Regions from separate parts of the Homo sapiens genome. Here regions 2, 3, 4, 5, 6 and 7 are each linked to region 1. The links are contacts of gene promoters, found by promoter capture Hi-C in blood cells and fetal thymus (Javierre and others, 2016). All regions are on one chromosome and are shown on one strand. The core of a region is centred on a gene start or on the middle of the fragment in contact, and the rest is flanking DNA. Distances in the headings are between cores, read along the strand shown.

What was found. The method cuts DNA at HindIII sites, captures the fragments that hold promoters and counts their contacts. A CHiCAGO score of 5 or more calls a contact.
Region 2: a fragment that was not itself captured here is called in contact with the fragment with the promoter of TXNRD3 in region 1 in 6 of 17 cell types (naive B cells, endothelial precursors, M0 macrophages and 3 more); the score reaches 6.3 in naive B cells.
Region 3: a fragment that was not itself captured here is called in contact with the fragment with the promoter of TXNRD3 in region 1 in 4 of 17 cell types (endothelial precursors, naive CD4 T cells, megakaryocytes and 1 more); the score reaches 13.2 in endothelial precursors.
Region 4: a fragment that was not itself captured here is called in contact with the fragment with the promoter of TXNRD3 in region 1 in 1 of 17 cell types (naive CD4 T cells); the score reaches 5.7 in naive CD4 T cells.
Region 5: a fragment that was not itself captured here is called in contact with the fragment with the promoter of TXNRD3 in region 1 in 5 of 17 cell types (naive CD8 T cells, naive CD4 T cells, non-activated CD4 T cells and 2 more); the score reaches 8.2 in naive CD8 T cells.
Region 6: a fragment that was not itself captured here is called in contact with the fragment with the promoter of TXNRD3 in region 1 in 1 of 17 cell types (erythroblasts); the score reaches 6.4 in erythroblasts.
Region 7: a contact is called between a fragment that was not itself captured here and the fragment with the promoter of TXNRD3 in region 1, in 3 of 17 cell types (total CD8 T cells, M0 macrophages and endothelial precursors). The highest score is 6.9, in total CD8 T cells.

What each region holds. Positions count from the first base shown.
Region 1 is chr3:126,653,633-126,656,571 of GRCh38, forward strand. It overlaps TXNRD3 (thioredoxin reductase 3), which reads right to left and starts at 1,492. Exons shown (of 16, transcript NM_052883.3): 1 at 1,116-1,492. The coding sequence starts at 1,358. The HindIII fragment of the contact is 4,771 bases long and covers 458-2,939 here.
Region 2 is chr3:127,528,796-127,531,538 of GRCh38, forward strand. The region is part of intron 5 of LINC01471 (long intergenic non-protein coding RNA 1471); the gene reads right to left. Among named protein-coding and RNA genes, the nearest start is that of LINC02034, 7.2 kb to the right of the region's middle. The HindIII fragment of the contact is 5,147 bases long and covers 1-2,743 here.
Region 3 is chr3:127,449,574-127,452,273 of GRCh38, forward strand. No RefSeq gene overlaps it. Among named protein-coding and RNA genes, the nearest start is that of LINC02016, 60 kb to the left of the region's middle. The HindIII fragment of the contact is 1,755 bases long and covers 524-2,278 here.
Region 4 is chr3:127,582,694-127,585,424 of GRCh38, forward strand. All of the region lies in intron 1 of TPRA1 (transmembrane protein adipocyte associated 1), which reads right to left. Among named protein-coding and RNA genes, the nearest start is that of MIR7976, 3.1 kb to the right of the region's middle. The HindIII fragment of the contact is 8,588 bases long and covers 1-2,731 here.
Region 5 is chr3:127,559,550-127,562,413 of GRCh38, forward strand. No RefSeq gene overlaps it. Among named protein-coding and RNA genes, the nearest start is that of MIR6825, 14 kb to the right of the region's middle. The HindIII fragment of the contact is 7,886 bases long and covers 1-2,864 here.
Region 6 is chr3:127,504,885-127,507,630 of GRCh38, forward strand. The region is part of intron 5 of LINC01471 (long intergenic non-protein coding RNA 1471); the gene reads right to left. Among named protein-coding and RNA genes, the nearest start is that of LINC02034, 31 kb to the right of the region's middle. The HindIII fragment of the contact is 295 bases long and covers 1,244-1,538 here.
Region 7 is chr3:127,466,790-127,469,596 of GRCh38, forward strand. No RefSeq gene overlaps it. Among named protein-coding and RNA genes, the nearest start is that of LINC02034, 69 kb to the right of the region's middle. The HindIII fragment of the contact is 209 bases long and covers 1,245-1,453 here.

The DNA.
Region 1 (2,939 bases), core at 242-2,741:
GTTGGGCATTACCTTGCTAAGGTAGAAATCATGCATCCTTTATGACCCAGCAACTCAGCTTCAAGATACCTATTCTAGAGTTAAGTCTTTTATAAATGCGCTGGGAGTTACGTGCAAGAATAAACATATAGCTGTACTGTTTTTTAAGACCAAAATACCAAAAACAGCAGAATGATAAACTCCGGTACGATTCATCCCAGGGAATAGTCAGCAACGAAAATTAATGAACCCCAGCTACAGATACTAACATGCATGAATCTCTGAAACATAACTGTTGAGGAAGAAAACTGCAGAAGAATACCTATGTATGTATGGTTCTATTTATATCAAGTCCCAAAACAGGCCAAAAGGAACCAAATATTGATGAATAATATATATATTTGGTAAAAATGTAAAAAAAAAAAAAGGAAATTTTGCATAGTGGTTAACCCTGAGGGAGGGAGGAGACAGCCAAGGAAGCTTCTACAGTACTAGTGTCACTTTATTATTCTTAAAAATATATATGCATAATATATGTTTTAAGAAACTATACACATCAATGTAAACTTCAAATATATTTGAAAAACACAGCCTATAATTTCATGAACTCAACCCAATAGTTTATGCTTTTGCATACTGTCTTCCACGTATCATTTTTCAACTTTCTGTAAAATGAAGTAAATTCCTAAACGTTGAAAGTCTGTACCTTACACGTAGGTTATCACCCAAAGGCTCGTTTCTAAGTGAAGTATTCTTAAACACAGAATACATTTGTCCTTAGAAATAATGCCGGATTCCTAGTCCGCCCCGAAAAGTTAAGGCAGTGTGCATGAAGCTGAAATTACCTCAGTCGTCCTAACAACCTTCCCGTACCTTCGTTTCACAAACGGGGGAACTGAGGCTCTGCACAGGGTCCTAACCCGGGTCGAGGTCACGCAATTAGGAGAGTTTCTGTTTTGATAAACTATCACAAGCCCACCTCAGGGGACGACCGGGGAGAGGAGAGGACGGACGGCTGACCTCACCGCCGCAGCCCGGGACCCGCGGGCGCCCCGGCCCGGACCCGCCCTGCCCCGGGTGGCGTCCGCGTGGCGGGCCCGGTCGCGCGCGGTGGAACCGGCGAGGGCCGCGCCTACCCGAGTACTATGGGGACAGTAGCTCTTGCTGAAGATCACCACCCGGCTGCGCTCGATGAGGCCCACGAGGTGGCGGCGCAGCTCCTCGCGGGCCTCGGACGAGCGGCTGGGCCCGGGGGACGACAGGCGGGCACGGCGCCCCGGCGGCGACAACACGCGCGCCCCTCGGACATGGCCCGAGCGGCGGTTGGGGGCATCGCCCGCCTTTCCCGGCCCGGGCGACTGCGGCGGCGACCGCTCCAGAGTCTCGCTCTCGCTCCTGGCCCGGCCGGGCCTGCTCACAAACCGAAACGCAGGCGGCTGCGGCGCCGGGACGGGGCCTGAGGGGCGGCGAACGCTGCCCTCGCTGGCCACTCTCACCACCCGCGCGAATCCGCGAGGCAGCCGCTCGCCCCGCCCCCCAACACCGCCCCGCGCATGCGAAATTGGGTCCCCCGCCCGCCCGCAGCCTAGGTGTCACCTGCCCTTCGCAAAGGGGCGGGTACCAAGCGCGAGCCTCTTTATCTCCAGGTTGTGCCTGCGTCCGGAGACCACCCAATCTTGGCGATGGCGCTCTGAGATGGCCTCTGTGCAATGCCTTTTACTCCTAATAATCCCCAACAGCCCCTTTAAACCACCTTAAAATATACGTTCTTCAATTTTTATGGGAAGTGTGAATTGGAAAGATTGATATTTTTAAAAGTTTAGATCACACAAGCTAAATAAATATATTGCGTTTGCTATTGCAATGCAGCTTTAATGAGTTTCCTAGGTTGCTACCCGTCAGTTCCCTTCTACATAGAATTCCAGAGCCGCCCCTAACAAAGGGACTCTGAAACCGCGAGAAGAGGAATCCTCTGTCCATTTCGGTGGATGAGTGGAAGACCTCGGAGCTGAACTTGCCTGCAGTGACTGAGTTAGCCGGTCATGGTGGCGGGTGCCTGTAGTCCCAGCTACTTGGGAGGCTGAGGCAGGAGAATGGCGTGAACCTGGGAGGCGGAGCTTGCAGTGAGCCGAGATGGCGCCACTGCACTCCAGCCTGGGCAACAGAGCGAGACTCCGTCTCAAAAAAAAAAAACAAAACCAAAAACAAAAACCTGGAGTTTCCTTCTTCTCAACAATTCTTTACATTTCAGTTAAGTCCTCTAGGCGGAACCCATGCAATAACCAGAGCAGGGGAAGGAGCCTAGTAGGTACTTTATGCTTTTTGTTAACCTGTGCACTCAGCGATGCTGGAGTGCCTGTCATGTGCCAGATACTGTGCTGGGCGCTGCGGATTTGGCAGAGAATGAGGCTGGCCGCCCTGCTCCTATGAGGTGTGGCTGCGTCTCTCCATCTCCTGGGTCCCATGAGGCACAACCAGTCATGGGGCCATTGTTCAGGTGAGGACACATGTCCAGGATGAGGGGGGAGTGTGTGGAAGCTACGGGCCTTGAAGTCAGGTGCATCCTCCTTTTCCCTGAGACTAATCTGTGGACATGACCCATGTCCCCAGCCGTCGCCCTCAGGGAGGTCGCAGGGCTGGCCGGGTCCCTGCGTGAAGTTTCATCTAGCACCCAATCACAGTGCCTGTGATTTTCACATTAGCTTGGGTCCTCCTCTTTGAGCCGTGAGGGGGAGTAATCAGGGGCACAGACCATGACACTCTTGCATGGCACAGCCTGGCCCATCACACAACATTGATGGGTCATTGACATGGGCAGCCTGAAGGAAACAGACATTGATGGGTCCAGTGACATTCAGAAATATCCACAGGGTCCCTTCTCCCCTGCAGTTGCCACCTGTCAGGGCACAAGTCTGAAATGCGATCAGGGCCCCAGGAAGTGGGGGCTGAGATGATGTGGG
Region 2 (2,743 bases), core at 79-2,578, 880 kb after region 1:
AGGAAATTGGGAAGAAGAGTTTTAGAGGACAACTCATGAATGCGTAGAATTAGCATGGATTGGCTGTGGGTGTTTGTGGATCCAAGGACTGGCTTTCGTCTGGCCTGGACCCAGGCCTCTCCAAACCTCAGCCCAGCCCCATCCCAGCTGCCCTGCCTCCAGACCCTGCCCACCCTCTGAGATCCAAGGAACCTCTCATTATAGCTTGGCTTTCTGCTCTATGCACCCCAGGGTATCACCCAAGGTCATGTTTAGACTTTTCACAAGAATTGGACAATTAGAGCAGACAAACAGTATGAATAACAGCAGTGCACAGCTCAGAATCTTGAAGGAGGCTGGCGTAGAGGATGGTGTATGTGTGCAATTTCAAAGGGCTTTACCCACTGGAACTGCTGCAACCAGAAAGATGGAAGAAGTCAAGGTACTTTTTCTTATTTCCCCCCACCAAATACAGCTAAAAGTCATGGGTATTCTGTGTAGAATGAATACAAGGAGGCCCTAACATGTGCAGAGAAGCACAAGCTGGGAGCCTCAGGACCTGGCAACAGCATGGTGGTGAGTTCCATCTTTTTGCTTCGTGTTTGCCAAACTGGGTGCTAAAGAGTCAGCAACCTAGAAATACCAACAGGCTCAGAAAACAATCCCCCAAAAAAACCTGCTCCCTCTAGCCAGGCAAGGGGCATTCTGGAAAACTTTAGAAGATAACTGACCTACGCCATCAGACCACACAGGAAAAGACGAGGCCCCACACCACCCTGGCCAGCAGAGACTGAGGAGGGAGCCTAGACCTCCACCCTCACCCAGATGTACTGACTGAGATGCCACCCCTCCTTGGGAAGGTATTGGAGAAGCCCAGCTGGGGGCAAGGAAGTCCACCACAGCCGGGCCTCAAAGGAGGCTGCTGAGACAGAGGTTTAAATAAGGCCAGGAGCCCCACCACATAACCCCTAATATCCAGGCTTCAATCACAAATCACTCCACACCAGGATCCAGGAAAACACCGACCCTGATGAGAAGAGATGCAGAGACTAACCCAGGATGACACCAACAGCAGCATCATCTGAACAATTTGAAGCCACCATCACAAAAATGCTCAACGGCAAACACAACAGAATCAAGTGAGAAAATAGAAAATCTCTGCAGAGAAACAAGCCACAAAGAGGAACAAAATGGGAACTCAGGGTTGAAAACGCAACAGCCAAAATTAACTCAGTGGATGGCTCAACGCCAGAACAGAGAGGCTGGAGGGAAGAGTCAGTGAACCTAAAGATAAAATAATAGAAATTACTTAATTTGAACAACAAAGCAAAAAATAGACTTAGATAAAAATGAGCAGAATCTCGGGTATGTATATTTTGGCCTATATACATTTTGGTCTATATTTTGGTCTCTCTATTACAAAAGGCCTAGCATCCATGTCGTGAGAGACCCAGAAAGGAAGAAAGATGAGGGTGGAGCTGAAAAGATTTTCAAGGAAATAATGTTTAGAAATTTCCTAAATTTGGCAAAAGACATAAATTTACAGATTCAAGAACCTGAGCAAACCCCAAATGGCATCAATCAAAGCAAACCTATGCCAAGACACCTTCTATTGAGACTTCGGAAAACTGAAGACAAAGACAAAAATCTTGAAAGTGGCAAGAAAAAAACATCTTGGCCAGGCGCCATGGCTAACGCCTGTAATCCCAGCACTTCGGGAGGCCGAGGAGGGCAGATCACTTAAGGTCAGGCGTTCAAGACCAGCCTGGCCAACATGGCAAAACCCCGTCTCTATTAAAAATACAAAAATTAGCCAGGTGTGATGGCGCATGCCTATAATCCCAGCTACTAGGGAGGCTGAGGCAAGAGAATCATTTGAATCTGACAGGCAGAGGTTGCAGTGAGCCAAGATCGCACCACTGCACTCCAGCCTGGGAGACAGAGAGAGACTCTACCTCAAAAAAAAAAAAAAAAAACAGAAACAGGCTGGGTGCGGTGGCTCACGCCTGTAATCCCAACACTTTGGGAGGATGAGGCGGGCAGATCACGAGGTCAGGAGATCGAGACCATCCTGGCTAACACGGTGAAACCCCATCTCTACTAAAAATACAAAAAATTAGCCGGGCATGGTGCCACGCGCCTGTAGTCCCAGCTACTCGGGAGGCTGAAGCAGGAGAATCGCTTGAACCCAGGAAGCAGAAGTTGCAGTGAGCCGAGATTGTGCCACTGCACTCCAGCCTGGGCGACAGAGAGAGAGAAAAAAGAAACAGCATCTTACCTGTAAGGGAAAACCATTTTAATGACAGCAGATTTCTCACTGAAACCATGGAGACCAAAAGGAAGTGGCACAGCAATTTTCAAGAGCTGAAAGAAAAGAACTCTCAGCCCAGAATCTTACATCCAGTGAAAATATCCTTCAGAAATCAAGAGGAAATCAAGACATCTTCAGAAGAAAAAAAAAACAGAGACTTTGTCACCAGCAGACCTACCCAAAAGGAGTGATTAAAGGAAGTTTGCCAAACAAATAAAATGAGAAAAGAAGGAATCTCAAAGTGTAAGGAAGGAAGAACACAGTCAACAAAATATAGATAGAGACAATAGACCTCATCTCTTGAGTTTTCTAAATTATGCTTGACAATTGAAGCAAAAGTTATAACACTGAATGATGTGATTGCCAACGTATGTAGAGGAAATACTAAAAAGAATTGTTATACAGGGGGAGAGAACAGGGAAAGTGAAGGACTTAGGTTTCTCCTCTTCCCCC
Region 3 (2,700 bases), core at 151-2,650, 800 kb after region 1:
TGTTTAAAACCCTTGCCACATTCTCAGGGAGCTGAGTTTTTGATACCTGGCTCTTCTCAAAAGACTGTGCCCCCAAGAGCAGGAGAAACTGGTCCAGCACGGTGGTTGCCATGGAAACCATTGAATGTAAATTTCATGTTCTGCCTTGCCCAGCTAAGCTATCGATTCAGCAAGAGGGAGAGAAATTGGGAGCTGTTTCCTTCCCAAAGTAAAAGAGAAAGTGCAGACCCAAAGTGAAAACAGAAGGAAGTGTGGCCAGGGGATCGAAACCTAGTTGGAAAAAAGATGGAACAGGGGTAGGCTGAGGGAGCAGGGAGGGAGGGAAGGACTAGAGAATCACTTTCCACTCCCATTAACCTGCTGGCACAGGTAAGTAGCCAGCTCCTAACACAGGCTCTAGAGTGATCTCGGCCCTGGCCTCAGCACTGGCACCTACCAGCTGCGTGATCTGGGGCAAATGGCTGACCCTCTATGAGCCTGTTTCATTATGTATAGAAACATGGATAAAAATTGCAACCTGGCAAGCTTGTCCTGGGGACATCATCACCCACGCATCCCAAGGCCTCTCTGGCATGCTGTCTTCTTCCTTTTTAGCCTGAAATTCCCACCATTGTTGTCATACTGAAGTTGTCATCGACGACTTCAGTACTCAAGGGAAAGAATGTGGTCCCAAGGAGCTGCAGTGGAAAACTCGAGGTCACCCATGAAAGAGGATAAGAGGAAGATGGAGCAGATGGGACATGGGACAGGTCTGTTTTGATGGAGTCAGCTGGAGTGGAAGTGGACCATACAAGGGTTGGGATGGAGGAATGGACTCGCCAACCAAAACCAAGTCCAAGTCTGGGTCCATCTCTGGGGTGCCCCAGCAGCTGGGTGCTCCACGCGGTGGGTGCAAATGCTGTGTGCTACCAGTTGTCACAGGATGACCATGCAGGGCTGCTGAGCTGGAGTGAGCCAGGCTGCCCATTCCCTCTTCCTGGGACTGCTGACACTGGCTCCCCTGGGGTGACCCAGGCCTGCCCAGGCACCATGACATGCCGAGGGTGCCCTGTCACCGCAGTCCTGGCAGCTGCACCCACAGAAACACTAATTGGGAAGTGAGACAAGCGAAGTGCCTTTAATGAGCTACCTTGTTGTAACTCTAACTCGTTGGCGTTATTTACAGAGATTCTGCTAATGAGGTGCCTGTCAGAGGGGGAGCCCACTGTGGGAGTTGGGGGAGGATGGGCCAGTCAGCCTTGAGGGAAGAGGCAAGATTCAAAGGGAAGAGGGAAAGAAACTCACCCTTGCTGAGCACCTGCTGGGCCAGAGGCCCTTCATCCCCATGATCTCAGCACACCGGCCCAGAGGCCCAGGAGGTACGGATGAGGTGTAGGGTGCAAGAACCTAACCAAGGTCACATGGGGAGTCTGGTAGTCTAGCCCAGGCTAGTCAGACAGCACAGTCCCTCAGGCACCTGCCTCAGGCAGGCCACAGGAGCCACCAGGGCCACCAAAGGTGGTAGGGACAGCATGTGTGTGTGTGTGTGTGTGTGTGTGAGTGTGTGTGTGTGTGTGTGTGTGTGAGTGTGTGTGTGTGTGTAGGAAAGACCACCAACTGGGAAGGAGTCCACTTCACCTGGCCTGGACATATGGAATCTACTCAAGGGTGGCCCCATCAGCTCTTCCACGCCAGAGTTCACAACCTCTCTTTCTGGGTTGACTCCTGGCAGGCCAGGGTTCTCCCAGCCATTCCTCACCCACTCCTCCCTCACTGTCCAGGGACCCTGAGCTTTGAGCCCTGACCCTAGCCAAAAAAAAAAAAAAAAAAAAAAAAAAAAAAAAAAGGAGGCTTCTCTGGGTCATCTACACTTTTAGAGACCATCTATCTTAGATCCAGTGGAATGGATTTGGCTGCTGCTTAACTGGTCTAGCCTGGGTTGGGTGCACCTCTCAGCCTGGGGTGGTGGGCAGGGCTCAGTGGTGGGAGGCGGGGGGGCTCAGTCTGAGTTAAGGGTGGGGCAGGGGTGGGGCTCAGCCCGGGACAGGGCTCAACTTGGGATTAGAGGGGAGAATCAGTTTGTAGCATTATTGGTTTGTGGCCAAAATAAGGGAACTGACCATTGGTCTTACTTTTTTCACCCGCGAAATGGGATTAATTAACTTGCATTTCTAGAATGTTATGGGATCCTAAGAAACAGAGATTGTGAAAGTGCCTTGCAAACCATATGGCGCCCCTTCTGGGTCTTGCTGTGGTCACTATGAGCAGAGTGGCAGTCTGGGTGCTGATGCTGAAACCAAGCTTGCCACCCTAGTGGAGACACTTCCCTGGCTTATCCCGTCCAGCTCGGCTCTGAGCTCCCCTCTCCCCTTCTCCATTCTCATTGTCACATCCTCTCTCCTCTCCTACTACCTGTCAAGATTGGCATCTCTTTAATTATAATGTCTGTGTGTTTCTTTAGGAGCCATGTAATTCCCCCTGACGGCCACCTATTTAAAATGAAAGTCAAACACTCAGAACTTTGTTTAAGAGTTGAGTCTTGGGGAAAAAAAATGCATTAATTGCCAAATGTTGCTAATTTCACTCTGATTTGGTGCAAAAAGAATACACACACACACACACACACACACACACACACGAGTACTGATGAAACTGACATGAGTCCAAGGATAGCATCTGGATGTCAAAGCCCTAAGCTCATCCAAACCCCTCTGTCATTTC
Region 4 (2,731 bases), core at 155-2,654, 930 kb after region 1:
TCTGTCTCAAAAAAAAAAAAAAAAAGGCTGGGCACGGTGGCTCACACCTGTAATCCCAGCACTTTGGGAGGCTGAGGTAGGTGGATCACCTGAGGTTGGGAGTTTGAGGCCAGACTGACCAACATGGAGAAACCCCGCCTCTACTAAAAAAAAAAAATACAAAATTAGGGCCAGGCACGGTGGCTCACGCCTGTAATCCCAGCACTTTGGGAGGCCAAGGCGGGTGGATCACCTGAGGTCAGGAGTTCGAGACCACCCTGACCAACATGGAAAAACCCTGTCTCTACTAAAAATACAAAAAAATTAGCCGGGCATGGTGGCACATGCCTGTAATCCCAGCTACCTGGGAGGCTGAGGCAGGAGAATCCCTTGAACCCGGGAGGCATAGGTTACGTTTAGCTGAGATCACACCATTGCTCTCCAGCTTGGGCAACACAGCAAGACTCCGTCTCAAAAAAAAAAAAAAAAAATTAGCCAGGCATGGTGGTGCATGCCTGTAATCCCAGCTACTCAGGAGGCTGAGGCAGGAGAATCACTTGAACCCAGGAGGCAGAGGTTGCGGTGAGCTGAGATCACACCATTGCTCTCCAGCCTGGGCAACAAGAGTGAAACTCCATCTCAGAAAAAAAAAAAAAGAAACAAACAAACACAAAACTTAGCCAGGTATAGTGGTGCATACCTGTAGTCCCAGCTAATAGGAAGGCTGAGGTGGGAGTATGGCTTGAGCCCAGGAGTTCGAGGCTGCAGTGAGCTATGATCGTGCCACTGCACTCCAGCCTGGGTGACAGAGTGGGACCTTGCCTCAAAAAAGAATAAATTAATTAATTAAAAATAATAAAATGAGGCCATAGCTGCAATCTTCAAGTGATGGGGAATATTAAAGAGAACAAATGCCTGACACATAGTAGATCCTAAGAAAGAAGATGGCTCCTTCCCTACTGTTGGGAGGGGGGCAAAGAAGCCCACCCTTCATTCACACATGCTTTTTTTTTTTTTGAGACATTGTCTTGCTCTGTCTCCAGGCTAGAGTGCAGTGGCGTGATCTCGGCTCATTTCAACCTCTGCCTCCCAGGTTCAAGCGATTCCCCTGCCTCAGCCTCCCGAGTAGCTGGGGCTACAGGCACGTGCCACCATACCCGGCTAATTTTTTGTATTTTAGTAGAGACGGGGTTTCATCACGTTGGCCAGGATGGTCTCGATCTCCTGACCTCGTGATCCGCCCACCTCGGCCTCCCAAAGTGCTGGGATTACAGGTGTGAGCCACCATGCCCAGCCCACACGTGCTTTTATTTGCTCAGCAGACCTTAACTAGCACCTACTGGGTGCCAGGCACAAGTCTAGGTGGTTGGACGTGGCACGGAACAGAGCAGACAAGGCCCTGCCCTCACAGCAAGGTGAAGCCAACAACAAGCATGAAAACCCTATTTAAAAAGCAAACTTGGAAAAAAAAAAAAAAGCAAACTTGACAGGGCACAGTGGCTTACACCTGTAATCCCAACACTTTGGGAGGCCGAGGTGGGAGGATCACTTGAGCCCAGGAGTTTGAGACCAGCCTGAGCAACACAGCAAGACGCTATTTCTACAAAAAGTTTAAAAAACTAGCCAGGTATGGTGGTGCATACCTGTAGTCTTAGCTACTCGGTGGGGCCGAGGTGGAAGGATCACTTGAGCCCAGGAGCTCCAGGCAGCAGGCAGCAGCAAGCTATGATCACACCACTGCACTCCAGGCTGGGCCACAGAGTGAGACCCTGTCTAAAAAAAAAAAAAAAAAAAAAAAAAAAAAAAAAGAAGCAAACTTCTAGAGATAAATGCTAAGTGAAGAAAACAGAGAGGTGGAGCAGAATGACAAGAAACACAGTAGAGACTGCTGGGTTCCCCCAACATCTACCCTTCCCTTTAGTGATGGAACCAATGGAGTTTAGCTTACACATCGCTTCCCAGCACAATGGGGACCTTTCCCAGCTTCCCTGCAACTGGGTGTGGCCATGTGGCTGAGTTTTATCCAACTGGACACGAGCTGAGACAGGCTGACAGTCCTTCAGCCTGTCATTTGATCTAATCCCATGGTGTGAAGACATAAACTCTAAAACAGAGGCCCAACAAAGATAAAAACCCTGACTTGTCTTTAAAAAGAACTTTTTTTTTGTTATAAACATATGACACGAGCAGAGTGAGGTCTGCTAATTTCAGATCATGCCCTCCTCCCTTCCCGGTGGCTGGAATATAGATACGACAGTGGGAGCAAGAGCAGCCTCCTCAGACCACGAGGCAGAAACCCTGTACGAGGGTAACAGAGCAATGAGAAAGAAGGTGTCTGGGTCCCCAGCACAATGAGGCCTCCGTGCATGTACTGGACAGCTTGCACAGAGGCTGCCTGCATAGATAAAAATAATCTATTTTATTATCCTAGCCTTTGTTTCAACAGCTAGCCCAAATCCCAATGAATATAAAGGTACTGCTTGGACTGGGTAGTCAAACAAGGTGACATTTTGAGCCGAGATCTCAATAAATAAGCAGGAGCCAGCCTTGGAAAGATCGAGATAAAGAACATTCCAGGGAGAATCACCTAAGATCCAGATGCACAAGTCCAGAGGTAGAAACAGGTTTGGCCTGTCCCAAGGGCAAAAAACAGGCCAGGGTAGCTGATACCAGAAAGGTTGGCAGGGCCAGGTCCCACATGCAACTCGACTTCACTCTAAGTGCAACCAGAAGGGTGTTACAAGGAGTGAGA
Region 5 (2,864 bases), core at 79-2,578, 910 kb after region 1:
GAGCTCTAGCACTTCCTGAGGATGCACTATACCCTCAGGCATTGCCAGCTGGAACATCTAATCAGGCCAGGCACGTTCAGGATGGAATGCTCTGACCAGCCAGCCCTGGTCAGAGCATTGGCCCTTCTAGCCATCAGTGTGGCCTATCTCAAGCTGCCCCGGGTTGGCATTCCTGGTCCTGGATCAGAATCTGTCTTCCCTGGGAGCCATCTCAGTGGCCTCAGCCCTGAGCCCCAGCCACACACCCCCAGCTATCGGGACTGTGCTGCTTGATTTCACTGTCAAACATCAGATATAGCCTCCCATCCTTCAGCATTCCCCACCCTACAGCACCCACCAATTCATTCATCCATCCATTCCTTTAACAAAATTGCTACTGAGCACTCAATAAGACCAGTCACTATCCTAGGCACTGGGGAGAGAGCAGTAAACAAAGCATACCAAAATCCCTGCCTTCATGGAACTTACACAATAAGGGAGATCAACAAGAAACTGTGTTAACAAACAAGTTAGCACAGTTAATTTGTGAACAGGAGTCTCAGGGGTAAAACAACAGCAGGACTCTATAGTTATCATTCCTGTGCACTTACTGTTTCCTCTGAACTTACAGTACCCTAGCACTTACTGTTCCACCATCACTTACTGTTCCCTGCACTTCCTGTGTCCCCAGACATCCTGTGCTTACACACCTCTGTTCCCCTGTACTTCCTGTTCCCTTGTACTTACTATTTCCTCTGCACTTCCTGTTGCCCCTACACTTCCTGTTACCTCTGCATTTACTGTTCTCCCGCACTTGCTATTCACCTTTTGATTACTGTCCCCTCACTTACTGCTCCCCTTGCACTTACTCTTCCCGTGCACTTACTGTGCCTCCTTGCACTTGCTATTTGCCCCTCATTTACCGTTCCCCTGCTGATACTGTTTCCTGCACTTACTATTAATCCTGCACTTCCTGTTCCCCTACACTTCCTGTCCCCCTGCACTTCCTAATCCCCCTACAATTACTGTTACCCCCAACTTACTCTTCCCCCATACTTACTGTTCACCTGCCCTTTCTGTGCCCCTACACTGCTGTTTCCCTGCTCTTCCTATTTCCCTGCATTTACTATTCCCCTGCTCTCCTTGTTCCCCTTGCCCTTCCTGTTCCCACTGTACTTCCTGTTTCTCTTACACTTATTATTCCCCTGCACTTACTGTTCCCCTGCACTTACTGTTCCATGGTGATATATGTTCCCTCTGTACTTACTATACTCTCGGCTGCCCACTTCTTTCCCCAGATACCCACAATGAAGCCCCCTCACTTTCTTCATATCTTAACTCCGAAGTCACTTTTTCCTAAGTCTTTCCTGCACAGTTTATTCACACTTTCTGCTTCTTCTCCCCACCCCAACAATTCCCCTTCCCCTTCTCTGCTTGTTTTTCTTTCTAGCACTCACTGCTGTATAAACCTCTGCAGATTCTATGTGTGTCTGCTGGATTATCTACCTCCCACAATAGAATATCAGCCCCTTCAGGGTGGGGATTTTTGTCTGGTTTCTTCACTGCTGTTTCCTCTGTGTGGATAGATGAACAACAAAAGGGGCTGCTTTCTAGTGTGGTTGTTCAGCTGTGTTGCTCTGGGAAGGTGATGCTGAGCAGAGAAGGAGGTAAAGAAAGAGAATCTGGCCGGGCGCTGTGGCTCGTGCCTGTAGTCCCAGCACTTTGGGAGGCCGAGGCAGGCGGGTCACAAGGTCAGGAGAGCGAGACCATCCTGGCTAACACGGTGAAACCCCGTCTCTACTAAAAATACAAAAAAATTAGCCGGGCGAGGTGGCGGGTGCCTGTAGTCCCAGCTAGCTACTCGGGAGGCTGAGGCAGGAGAATGGCGTGAACCTGGGAGGCAGAGCTTGCAGCGAGCCAAGATTGTGCCACTGCACTCCAGCCTAGGCGACAGAGTGAGACTCTGTCAAAAAAAAAAAGAAGAAGGAGAATCTGCAGAAGGAGTGAGAATTCAGGTTCTGTGATGTCACCTCACCGTTCCCAATGCAATGCTGATTTTCCCCTTAGGTGTGCCTGCTCTGTGGAGCCACCACTGTCTATTACAGTTTTAGGAACCCAGCTGCTCCCCAGGCTGGCTGCAGCAGGCTCTGGAGTGGCAGATCAGACCTAACATAGCCATCACACTCCGCGCTGTCTCACAGCCAGGTGGAGCAGCCCCATATTCCCCACCCCCTGCTGCCTGTTCCATGGACTCACTGCCAGCTTGGGCCTTTCCATAGAACAAGTCAGCCAGTGACCACTTTGGACCCTCTTTCTTCACATAATATGCTCTATCGCCAAGTCTTCCCCATCCTGCAAGTCTTCCCCATCTTGGACAGATTGCTGACTTATTCTGGAAGAGAACTTCATCTGGGTCCCTGCCCTCTCAGCTGGCAGTGAGCAGAATCATTCCTAGCAGCCGAGGCCTGTGAATGTGATTCTAGCATGAGGACACACATAGATGTTGGAGAAATAAGCCAAGTTCTCGTCTCTTTGGAGAACCCACAGTTGTCAAGAGCCTTCTGAGCAACAGCTATTTTATAGATCGGCTAATACCCGACAGGAAGAGATATTATCGTCCCTATGTTACAGAAGAGGAAACTGAGACCCAGAGGGTAAAATTACTCACCCAAGGTCACTCTTAGAAGTAGGGTCTAACTTGCAACCCAAGCATCCGACTTATTTCCCTCACACGGCTGCCTCCCTCTGCATAGTGCTGACCTTCCCAGCCGGTCTGTTCAGATCTGGCAGTGTCCCTCTGGCCTGAAAATCACAGTTTCCCAAAATGGGATGGAATCAGAGAGGTTGGATCAATGACGCACTGTTAGCAACCCCCATGGGCCAAA
Region 6 (2,746 bases), core at 141-2,640, 850 kb after region 1:
GAGGCGGAGCTTGCAGTGAGCCGACATGGTGTCACTGCACTCCAGCCTGGGCGACAGAGCGAGACTCTGTCTCAAAAAAAAAAAAAAAAAAAAGAAAAGAAAAAAGTTGTTACTAGAGACAGAGAGACATTTCATGCTGATAAAAGAGTCAATCAATCAGGAAGATATAACAATTATAAACACGTATGCATTTTATAACAGAGCATCAATATACATGAAGTGAAATTGACAGAAACTAAGGGAGAAATATACAATTCAGCAATAACAGTTGAAGACTTTAAAACCTCACTTTCAATAATGGATAGAAAGACTAGACAGAAGATTAATAATGAAATATTAGACTTGAACAGCACTATAAACCAATGAGACCTAACAGACATCTCTATAGAACACTCCACTCAACAACAACAGAATATACATTCTTCTCAGGAGCACATGAAACATTCCCCAGGATAGACCGTATATTAGGCCATAAAACAAACCTTAACAAATTTAAAAGAATAGAACTAGCACAAAGTATGTTCTCTGACCACAATTGGGATAAAATTTGACATCAACAATGGAAAATTTGGGGAAACTCAGAAATATGTGGAAATTAAACACACCCTTATATAACCAATAGGTCAAAAAAGAAATAAAAGGGCAAATTTAAAAATACATTGACAAGAATGAAAATGAAAACACACCATACCAAAACTTATAGGATAAAGCTAAAGCAGTGCTTAGACAGAAATTTATAGCTGCAGTGCCTATATTAAGAAGAAGGAATGATCTCAAATCAATAACCTAATCTTCCACCTTAAGACACTGGAGAAAGAAGAGCAAACTAAACCTAAAGCAATCAAAGAAGGGGAATAATAAAGGCTAGAGCAGAAATTAATGAAACAAAGAATAGAAAAACAATAAAGAAAAGCAGTTAATTCAAGGCCAGTTTGTTGTAAAGATCAACAAAATTGACAAACCTTTAGTTAGATTGTTCAATAAGAAAAGAAAGAAGACTCAAATTACTAGAATCAGAAATTAAAGAGAAGACATTACTACTACCCTTACAGAAATAAAAAGATTATAAGGAAATATTATGAACAATTGTATCCAAAAAACTCAATAAATTAGAAGAAATGTCCTTCCATAGAAGGACAAAAACAAAACTACAGGAACTGACTCAAAAGTAAATAGACAATCTGAATAGACTTTTAACAAGTAAAGAGATCGAATTAGTAATCAAAAACTACCCATAAAGAAAAGCTTAAGTCCAAATGGCTTAATCACTGAATTTTATCAAATACTTAAAGAAGAATTAATACAAATTCTTCACAAACTCTTCCAAATAGTAAAAGAGGAGGAAATACTTTCCAATTCATTTTATGAGGCCAATATTATCTTACTATCCAAACCAGGTGAAGATAGCACAAGAAATGAAAATTACAGACCAATACCTCTTATGCAAAAATCCTCAACAAAATACTAGCAAATCAAATTTAATAACATATAAAACAAATCAAACTCCATGACCAAGTTCGATTTATCCTAAGAATGCAAGCTTGGTTTCAACAACTAAAAATCAATTAAATCACCATACCAATAGAATAACAGCTAAATGAGCTAAAATTATACTCAATGGTAAAAAACTGGATACTTTCCTCCTAAGACCAGAAACAAAACAAGGATGTATGCTCTCACCATTTCTATTCAACATTGTACTGGAGGTTCCGGTTGGGGTAATTAGGCAAGAAAAAAGAACAGGAGGCATTCAGATCACAAAGAAAGAAGTAAAACTCTATCTATTGAAGATGACATGATCTTGTACATAGAAAACCCTAAGGGCCCAGGCATGGTGGCTCACACCTGTAATCCCAGGACTTTGGGAGGCCGAGGCAGGCAGATCACTTGAGGTCAGGATTTTGAGACCATCGTGGCCAACATGACAAAACCGTGTCTTTACTAAAAATACCAAAATTAGCCAGCATTGTGGCACACACCTGTACTCCTAGCTACTGGGGCGGCTGAGGCACAAGAATCACTTGAACCTGGGAGGTAGAGGTTGCAGTGAGTCAAGATTGTGCCACTGCACTCCAGCCTGGGTGACAGAGTGAGACGCTGTCTCAAAAAAAAAAAAAAAAAGAAAATAGAAAATCCTAAGGAATCTATTAAAAAACTATTAGAACTAATAAATGAGTTGAGCGAGGTTGCAGAATACAAAATTAATATACAAAAATCAATTGTATTTTTGCTGGGCGCAGTGGCTTACGTCTGTAATCCCAGCACTTCGGGAGGTGGAGACAGGCAGATCACTTGAGGTCAGGAGTTCAAGACCTGCCTAGCCAAGATGGTGAAACCCAGTCTCTACTAAAAATACACAAATTAGCCAGGTGTGGTGGCACAGGCCTGCAGTCCCAGCTACTTGGGAGGCTGAAGCAGGAGAATTGCTTGAACCCGAGAGGCAGAGGTTGCAGTAAGCCAAGACTGCCCCACTGCACTCCAACTTGGGTGACAGAGTGAGGGTCTGTCAAAAAAAAAAAATCAATTGTATTTTTAAATAAACCTTTAATTTTAGAATAGTTTTAAATTTTAAAAAGAGTTGCAAAGATAGTACAAAGAGTTCTTTATATCCTACACCCAGAGCCCTCTAACCTCTAATATTAACATCTTCTATTACTATAGTACATTTATTTTAATTGCTGAACCAAAATATACAAGTAACAAATCAATAAACATTTGATTGCAAGTAAGAGAAGACTAAATCAAA
Region 7 (2,807 bases), core at 99-2,598, 810 kb after region 1:
TGTCCTTATACCCATGATGCTCCAAGTCAACTGATGACAGGACCCAACCAGGGGCACAGCCAGTAACCAGATGACAAGGGCTGAGGAAGCAGGATGGGGTCCAGGGCCCACACAGGCCTGGCCTCCCAGATACATTCTTCCAGTAATACTGTTAGAAGTGATATACATCTGGCATTTCTAGTCCTTTACATAATGGCCTCACTAGTCATCCAACACCCCCACAAGGTAGAGCCTAGTATCAGCCCCACATTCCAGATAAGGAAACTGAGGCACAGAGAGGCTCCTGCCTCATCCAGGCAATGGAGGGGATTCATCCCAGCGAGCCCGGCGCCAGCCTGGCTCCCATCCACTGCTTTAGAGCCCCTTGTCTTCAGGCACAGAGGTGAGAGTGCTGGTGGGAGTTCCTAGAGATGGAGGGCCAGTGGAGCCAGCCACTCCTGGGAAGAACCTCCCACTGCCTCGACCCAGGCCCACTGCAGGTGCCACCTCCTCCCTGATCCCCCAACCAGGCATGTTCTCCTCCCATCCCCAGGCACTTTCTTCTGCCCTCGTCTTTCCCTGACCTGCACTCTCACCTAAGCCAACTCTCCCTGCCTGATCTGGGTCCCTGAATTTGGGCACGGGGCATGGGGGTCCCTGGCCAGGGAGGGCAGAGGAGGGAATCATAAGTGCCATCCACCTCCCCTTCCTCCTGCAGCTTGCCTGGCCCAGACTCCCTTAACTAGCTCTGGCTTCAAACCTAGGCTCTCCCAGCCCCACCCCCGCTCGCCTGCTGCAGGCAGGCCTGGCCGCCCTGATGCAATGGGGGCGGTGGCAGCTGGGGGCGGACTGCTTCCTTCCAGGGCTGCGGCTTCCACATCAAACCCATGCTCATTAAGAAGCACGGCGAGTGCCAGGGTGACATCTTTATTCACGCGCCCAGAGACTTCAAAGCCTTCAGGAGATCTCCTCGGTGGATTAGACATGAAAAATGTTGGAGATGAGATGGAGCAAAGAAGCAGACAGCCGCTCTGGATGTTAATTAGGCAGGGGGTGGGGGCCGCCTCCAGTCCAGGGTGGGTTCCTCTGGGGCAGAAGGGCCCAGACCACCAGAGGCTCTCTGTGGCTACAATCCCAGGTCACCTGGAGGCTAGAACCTCCCAAGCTGCAGGCCAGGTCCCTGGATGTGGGCGAGCTGGACCCAACAGGAGAACTTGCTCTGCAGTGAACATGACTGGGTGACCCCAGCATCCCCATTAGGGAGAAGCTTCAGCTTCACTGCTGCCCACAAATGTAGACCAAGTCCTGCATGGACTGCTCTGTGCGGGCTGCTGCCAAGAAGGCGGAGAGGAAGGGGACATCCCAGGATCTCAGTCTTGGGAGGCAGGTGGGAGTAGTTGCGAGTCTCTGTGGTCAGTTCCGAGAAGGAGGCAGGTCCAGGAGGCTGTGGGAGCCAGAAGAGGTAGTCCAGGAAAGCTTAGATGGGGAAGAGGGGCAGACCACCAGAAATGAGAAGGGAATTCCTAGCAGAAGAAATGACACAAGCAAAGGCTGGAGGGGTCGACATGGAAGGCAAAGCCATTCTCTGTCAGGAGTGTCACAAGCAGGGCTGGGTGCAGGTTGAGATGGAGCAGGACGAGGAAGCAGGGGTGGTCTTGAATAGGTGGCAACATGGTTACAGTTAGGGTTTGGGGAATGTTTTGGTGGCACAGGTGGGAGCTGAATGTGGGGGCCAGAGGTCTGGAGAGTGATTGATTGTCACAGTCAGGAGCATGGCTGTGGTCCAGGTAGAGGGTGACGACTTGAAACAAGAGGTAGCCACAGGAATATGGAGGAGGCAGGAGAGAGAATGGCAAACACCAGGTGAGTGATGGAGAGGGACCAGGGACAAGTCACAGATCAGATTCAGATTCTTGGCCCCTGTGACCAGGTAGAACCTGGGGCTCTCCCCAAGGTGAGAACACAGAGGAGAAGCAGGTGTAGGGGAGGGTGCTGGGCTCAGTATGGAGCCTGCTGGGTTTGAGGTGCCTCCAGGACACCTGGTGAGAGGGTCAAAGGTGGGAGAAGCTTTTGAGCCAGAGCTCAGGGGAGGCATGGGAAAAAGGGAGCAGCCCACCACCCACTCAACCAAGATGAATTGATGCCATGTTGGGCAGGGGCAGGCTCTTGCCAGACATTATGTCTCCAAAAGGATTGTCTCAGCCTGGGAGGGGCTGAGAAAGGGAAAGGAGAGGACCCAGGCCTGGGGGCATCGGGGGCCTGACCCCACCCAGGAGCAGAGTGAGGGGCCTGGGGAAGGACTACCCTTGGGCTGAGGTGACACAGGGGCTCTATGTCCTGGCAGAGCAGGGGCACCCTCTGCTTTAACAGCAGAGATGTAGACAGGCCTCTCTGCCCCCACCATGATCCTGACCCAGGGCCATGGGAGGACAGGCACTCAGGCCAGAAGATGAGACTCTGGCTGCCCCCACAGATGTTTCCCAAAACATTTCAGAGGAAAACCTGCTGTCTCAGAGGGCAACTGAGAAACAAATTTCTTTGGGCTTTCTTATGCCTGCTAGATGAGGGGAAGAAAAGGTTTCATAAATGAGCTTTCCCTCCCCCACCAGGGTGGGAAGGGGAAAATGGAGCTATTGATTGGCCCATTTAGAGTGTCGACTTTGATTTGGTGTGTGTCACCTGGGCGACTAATTGGAGACGCGCAGCTTCTGATCAGGGGGCGGCTTGGGGCCTCCTGGCAGGTGATGTGGAATTGGTGCCGCCATCATCCTGTCTGCCTTCCTGGCCTCATGGCACCACTCAAGGACAGGACCATAGTGGCAGGATCA